2 separate regions of the Homo sapiens genome follow, and region 2 is linked to region 1. The links are contacts of gene promoters, found by promoter capture Hi-C in blood cells and fetal thymus (Javierre and others, 2016). All regions are on one chromosome and are shown on one strand. Each heading gives the region's core, a stretch centred on a gene start or on the middle of the fragment in contact. The rest is flanking DNA. Distances are from core to core; before and after follow the strand shown.

Region 1 (3,015 bases), core at 348-2,847:
AATTAAGGTAGTTAAAAGTAACTGCTGAACCTAAAATGAAGGCAGCAGCAATTAGATATAAAAAAATCTTAAGATCAGCCTGCAAATTGTAAACTAGTTTACAAAGCAGGCTATACAATGAGGAATAATTCGAGCTTGTAGAAATCCATGGTTTCCACCAGATACAGGTATTCCGGATCTAGAATTATCTTTCTATTTGCAGGATTTCCGAAGAGACCGTTAAGCATCTACGCGCCCCTTCCTGGATCCCATGCTTCTTGGGGCAGGAAATTTCTTTTGGTCCGTCGCTTTCGTCGTGAAATACACAACTAATTTTCCTTTCATGTTATAAGGCACCATATTTATGATTTTGTTAACTGAAGAAAAAACCCGAGATAAACCATCTTAAGTACTTTTAAAAGTCCAGTGGCTGAATTCGGTGTTTAATCTGATACCCTTCTGGATTCGCTGACACTGGAGAGAATAATTTCCAAGTCTTAGTATAGCCAAAACAAAAAACTACCGTCGCTAAGCTACATCTACCACTGGATTTTAAAATGACAAAACAGCCTGAGAAAAATCACAAGAGCAGCTAACTCGAAGAAAAATCCTTTTTCTTTACTCAGCCGAACCTAAGACCACAGTTACTTCGAAAGCAACTTCTAATAACCGTCTCACATCCTGTCACCAGTTCAATGACAAAATCTCAGTTTTCAGAGCGTGTGCCAAGTCCAGCACAAAAAGCTGACATCGAGGAGCTCCCAACGCTGCTGTCGCCTCCGCTGGCAGCAGCCGCTCCCGGATTAGACTCGCAGGCTGTTAGGGCAGGGCCTTCGCCACGGGCTTCCGCACAGCGGCGTGCAGTCCTCAGCTCGGCCGGCGCGGTCTCCGACGGCGCTGGCTCCGCGTACTTCCCCAGCGGCGAGGGCGCGAGGTCCTCACACGGGCAGCACCTTGGCGAGGCCGGCGCCGCGGCCCAGGCGACCCAGTGCGAGGCGCAGCGCGGTGCCGCCGCCCCAGGGCAGCAGCCCAACCAGCGCGGCCAGCAGCGCGGCCACCTGCGCGCCCGCGCCCAGCACCGTGAGCAGCGTGCTGCGAAGGCCCAGCGCGGCGAACAGCGTGGCGCCCAGCGCTGCCATGTAGAGCAGCGCGGGCCGGGACGGCGCTTCTTCGCAGCGCAGCAGGCGTCCGCACGCCGCGCCGCCCCGCAGCAGCGCGCTTCCCGCCAACGCCAGCGCCGAGCCCAGTGACCAGAGCAGCGCGAACTTGCGCGCGCGCAGCAGCAACACCGGTGCGTAGAGCGCGGCTAGGCCGAAACACAGTGCAGCCAGCAGCAGGCACCCGCCGCCCGCCGCCAGCCGCTGCCCGCGCGTCACGCTCGGGAGGCACGTCAGGCCGGCCGCTGCCGACTCCGCAGGGCTCCGCGCCCACGTCCAGCGCAAGCCCGCGCGGCCCAGCCACTCCTCCGCCGGCCGGTCCCCGGGCTCCTCCGCCTTCTCCGCGGCGAGCAGCGGCTCCGCGGCCGCCGGGCCGCCAGCTTTCCCCTGCGCCAGGTACTCCTGCAGCTGGCGGTGGAGGTCCGCCATCTTGGACAAGGCGGTGGCAGAAAGGAAAAGCTGCGGCTCACTTCCGGCCCTCCGCTGAAGCGGTTCGGTCTTCGGGCGGCAATTGGTCGGCGACGGCGAAAGGGGCAGGGCCTGCGGCGCTCGCGGAAGTGCCGCGGTGCCTGCTCTGCGGACTTTTGTGGTGTCCCCAAGTACCGTGGTCGCAGGTGCTGCCTGTCCGCTTGCAGTCGCCCTCCCAGCGCCTGACCCTCTTCCTTGTTCGGAGTAGGCGCCCTTGCGGTCTGGCTAAGTCCTGCCAGCATTAATAGTTGGAAGGCAGGGGTGGGTGTGGTTCTAAAGGGGCACAAGAAGTGACCCTTTTGCTGACGGAAATGTCTTATGGCCTCACTGCGTCTACCGTGGCGGTGATATTGTGCTAGTTTTGCAACATGGAGGAATGGGTAAAGGGTACACAGAATCTCTCTTGTTTCTTACAACTGAACACAAACAGTGATCTCAAAATAAAAATTTAATTTTTAAAAAAGTTCAGACCTGTGTAACTCAGGTGGGTTTTTTGGGGAAAGTTGCGTTCTGATTAGTTACCTCACTTGTAGTAATAGTGACCATCCTGATCATTTACCATGGGGTTGATAAAGGAAGGGTTGACACCCAGCACCCTCAACCTGCTTCTCTATTCTGTTCTCAGTTTCGGCCACAGGCCTGGCAACATCCTTGACTCCTTCGCGCCCCTTGTCCAAGACTCGGTGCTGCTGTCCCATGTGTTTGGTGTCACTCTCGTGCTCTGGACAGCGCCACGCCCAGGTGTCCTGACTCATCGTCACATCACTGTGACAAGCTGGCTCGCACGCAGGTCAATCCTGATCTGTTCCCAGGCCGCACCCACGTGCCCTGCTGTTTCTCAGAGCCTCCTAGAGGGTGTTTGCTTGTGGTTCCTCTCACAGGTCAGATTCCTCCAGATTCTTCCAGCTGCCTCCACAGCTCCCCTCACCACCTTGGCTTCCCCTGGGTGGCCCTGTGTCCTTTGTCCTCTGCCCTAGGTGGATGTAAGGTTAACGGCTTCCTGCTGTTTGGCTTCTCAGCCTTTCCATCCCCTGTGTGTAACTAATCTCCCCCATTAAGTTCCTTTTAATGCTTTCTGTTTTCTTGGTTGGATCCTGGCAGATGCAATTCTTTTTCAAAATATATTCTGATTTGTTATCTCACTTGATAATAATAGTGACCAGCCTGATCACTTAGCATGGGCTAAACCATTAGGATGGCTACAATCAAAACAAAAAAACAAAAACACACCAGAAAGTTACAAGTGCTGTCAAGGATGTGGAGAAACTAGAAGCCTTGTGCACCGTTGGTGGGAATGTAAAATGCTATATCCGCTGTGGAAAACAGTATGGAAGTTACTATAAAAAAAAAATATATATATATATATATACACACACACACACACAGACACATATAAACGTATATACACACA
Region 2 (2,700 bases), core at 115-2,614, 110 kb after region 1:
TGCTGAGGCATAGGGTTTTGCTTCTAAGGGGCTGAGCCTGGGTTTGAACCCTGAGCAGCCACCAATGAGAGATATCCCAGCCAGAGGCACTCTTAACCCCCGAGCTTCAGCCTCAGGCCTGCCTGCCTGTCCTGCAACTCCCAGCTCCCAAGGTAGGCAGGGTCTGAACGAGCCAAGGGTCTCTGGGAGCCCAGCTACTTCTCCCAGCAGTTAAGGAACAAGATAGGTTATCTCACATCTGCCTATTTTGCCTTCAAGGAAGATGCAACCTAGATTTCATAAGGCAAGCCTCATTTTATTTTTTTAGAGACAGGTCTTGCTCTGTCACCCAGGCTGAAGTGCAGTGGTGTGATCATAGTTCACTGCAGCCTTGACCTCCTGGGCTCAAGTGATCCTCCTCCCTCAGCCTCCTGAGTAGCTGAGACTACAGGCACATACCACCATACCTAGCTAATTTTTATACTTTTAAATTTTTTTGCAGAGATAAGGTCTTACTATGTTGCCCAGGCTTGCCTCAAGCAATCCTCCCGCCTCAGCCTCCCAAAGTGCTGGGATTACAAGCGTGAGCTACTGCACCCAGATCAAACTCGATTTCACATAGTTTTATTCTTTCCAAAAAGCATTTAATTTCATGTAATATTTTTATTCCCTTATGGGGATAAAACCATTTTATATTGTTTCAGCTGATGTCTCCTAGTTTGGGGAATCCCTGCATATGCGGCCTCTGGGTGGGACTCCCCACCCAATGGAGCAGGGACTCCGTTGTGGGCAGGGAGTGTGGGCTCTCACCCCCTCACCGTCTCACAGCAGGTAAAGCTGACTGTCTGCAGGGCTGGTGAAAGGAGTGGTGTCAGCCTCTAAAGTCCTATTACTGATTTCTGCCTTTGTTGAGTGTGGTTTACATATGGGACATGTACTGCAAACCTCATGTCCAACCCTCAGTGCATTCCTGCAGGCAGGAGCAAGTCTGACTTAACAGAAGGGAAAACTGAGGCTCACAGCAGCAAAGAGCCAGGCCAAGAACGCACAGAAGATGCATGGCGGAGCTAAGGGAACTGAGGTCTCAGCAACCCAAAGCTCTGCAGGTCACTGACCTTCACATGACCTAGTCTGGTCACCTTACCCCAGTGTACTTATCTGTAAGGTAGGGGCAGTAACAGCTCTAACGCTAGCCAGGCCCTGGCAGAGGGAGTGACCACAACCCTAGAGGCCATCAGCCTCCTCCTCCTCCCTCCTTTGCTGTGCCCCAGCCTCCTGTCATTACCAGCGGCTTCTTGTACTCATTAGGTTTGATGCAGCGGATGAAGTAAGGCTGGCAGTTGGTCAGGATTTTCATCAGCTGGTCCAGAGACTGTTTGAACTGGCTTCCTAAGGTGGAGGGCCGTTTATTTGAGTCTGCAGACTGTGAATGGAAGCACAGAGCACAAGTGGGTCTCAGGAGCCATGTCCTGGGACAGCTGACCCTGTAGGCCAGCAAGGGTTGCGGCCAAGGCCCCACAGGTGGGGTGGTGCATCTACCTATTCAAGAATCCACCCACCCACCCATCCATGTATCCATCCACCCACTCACCCATCCACCCACCCCTTCACCCATCCACTCACACACCTATCCATCCACCCACCCACCCATCCACCCGCCCACCACCCATCCACCCACTCACCCATCCTTCCACCTACCCAGCACCCATCCACCCACCCACCCATGCGTCCATCCATTCACCCACCCACCCACCCATCCATCCTTCCATCCACTCACCAACCCACATAGCCACCCGCCCATCCATCTATCCATCCACCCTCTCACCCATCCACCCACCCACCCATCCACCCACCCATTCACCCATCCATTCACCCATGCACCCACTCATCCATCCACCCACGCACCACCCATCCACCCACTCACCCATCCATCCACCTACTCACCACCCATCCACCCACTCACCCATCCACCCATGGCCCCACTAAGGCCATGCTCTCCACCCCTCTACCCAGGCGTGGCCCCCACCATCTACCCAGCACAAAGTCACTTCTCCTATCTAAACTCTGGACCCCCCAGATTCCCATTCCCACTCCAAACCCCCTTATATAAGCTGCCACATGCACCCACCCATGCACCCATTCATTCACCATTCCACCCACCCATCCATCCATCCACTCACCCATCCACACAGCCACCCACCCATCCATCTATCCATCCACCCACCCACCCATCCACCCACCCATCCATCCACTCACCCACCCACACAGCCACCTGCCCGTCCATCTATCCATCCACCCACTCACCCATCCACCCATCCATTCACCCATCCACCCACCCACCCGTCCATCCACTCACCCATCCACACAGCCACCCACCCATCCATCTATCCATTCACCCACTCACCCATCCACCCAACCATCGACACACCCATTCACCCATCCACTTACATACCCATCCACCCATCCACTCACCCACCCATCCATCCACCCACCCACCACCCATCCACTCACTCACCCATCCATCCACCCATCCACTACCCATCCACCCACTCACCCATCTATCCACCCAACCACCCATTCACCCGTCCATCCACTCACCCATCCATCCACTCATCCATCCATCCATCCAACCAACCAACCACACATCCATTTACCCATCCACCCTCACACACCCATCCACCCATCCACTCACCCACCCATCCATCCACCCACCCATCCATC

Evidence for each region. Contacts are between HindIII fragments. The CHiCAGO score rates a contact against its expected background, and 5 or more counts as called.
Region 2: a fragment that was not itself captured here is called in contact with the fragment with the promoter of SFT2D3 in region 1 in 1 of 17 cell types (total B cells); the score reaches 5.2 in total B cells.

What each region holds. Positions count from the first base shown.
Region 1 is chr2:127,700,079-127,703,093 of GRCh38, reverse strand. SFT2D3 (SFT2 domain containing 3) reads right to left here and starts at 1,597. Exons shown (of 1, transcript NM_032740.4): 1 at 1-1,597. The coding sequence starts at 1,565. The coding sequence ends at 918. It overlaps WDR33 (WD repeat domain 33), which reads left to right. Exons shown (of 22, transcript NM_018383.5): 22 at 1-2,067. RefSeq lists a silencer at 839-1,518 and enhancers at 1,838-2,359, 2,279-2,648, 2,360-2,881, 1,876-3,015. The HindIII fragment of the contact is 7,289 bases long and covers 1-3,015 here.
Region 2 is chr2:127,588,794-127,591,493 of GRCh38, reverse strand. MYO7B (myosin VIIB) reads right to left here. Exons shown (of 48, transcript NM_001393586.1): 16 at 1,265-1,402. Among named protein-coding and RNA genes, the nearest start is that of MYO7B-AS1, 41 kb to the left of the region's middle. The HindIII fragment of the contact is 8,153 bases long and covers 1-2,700 here.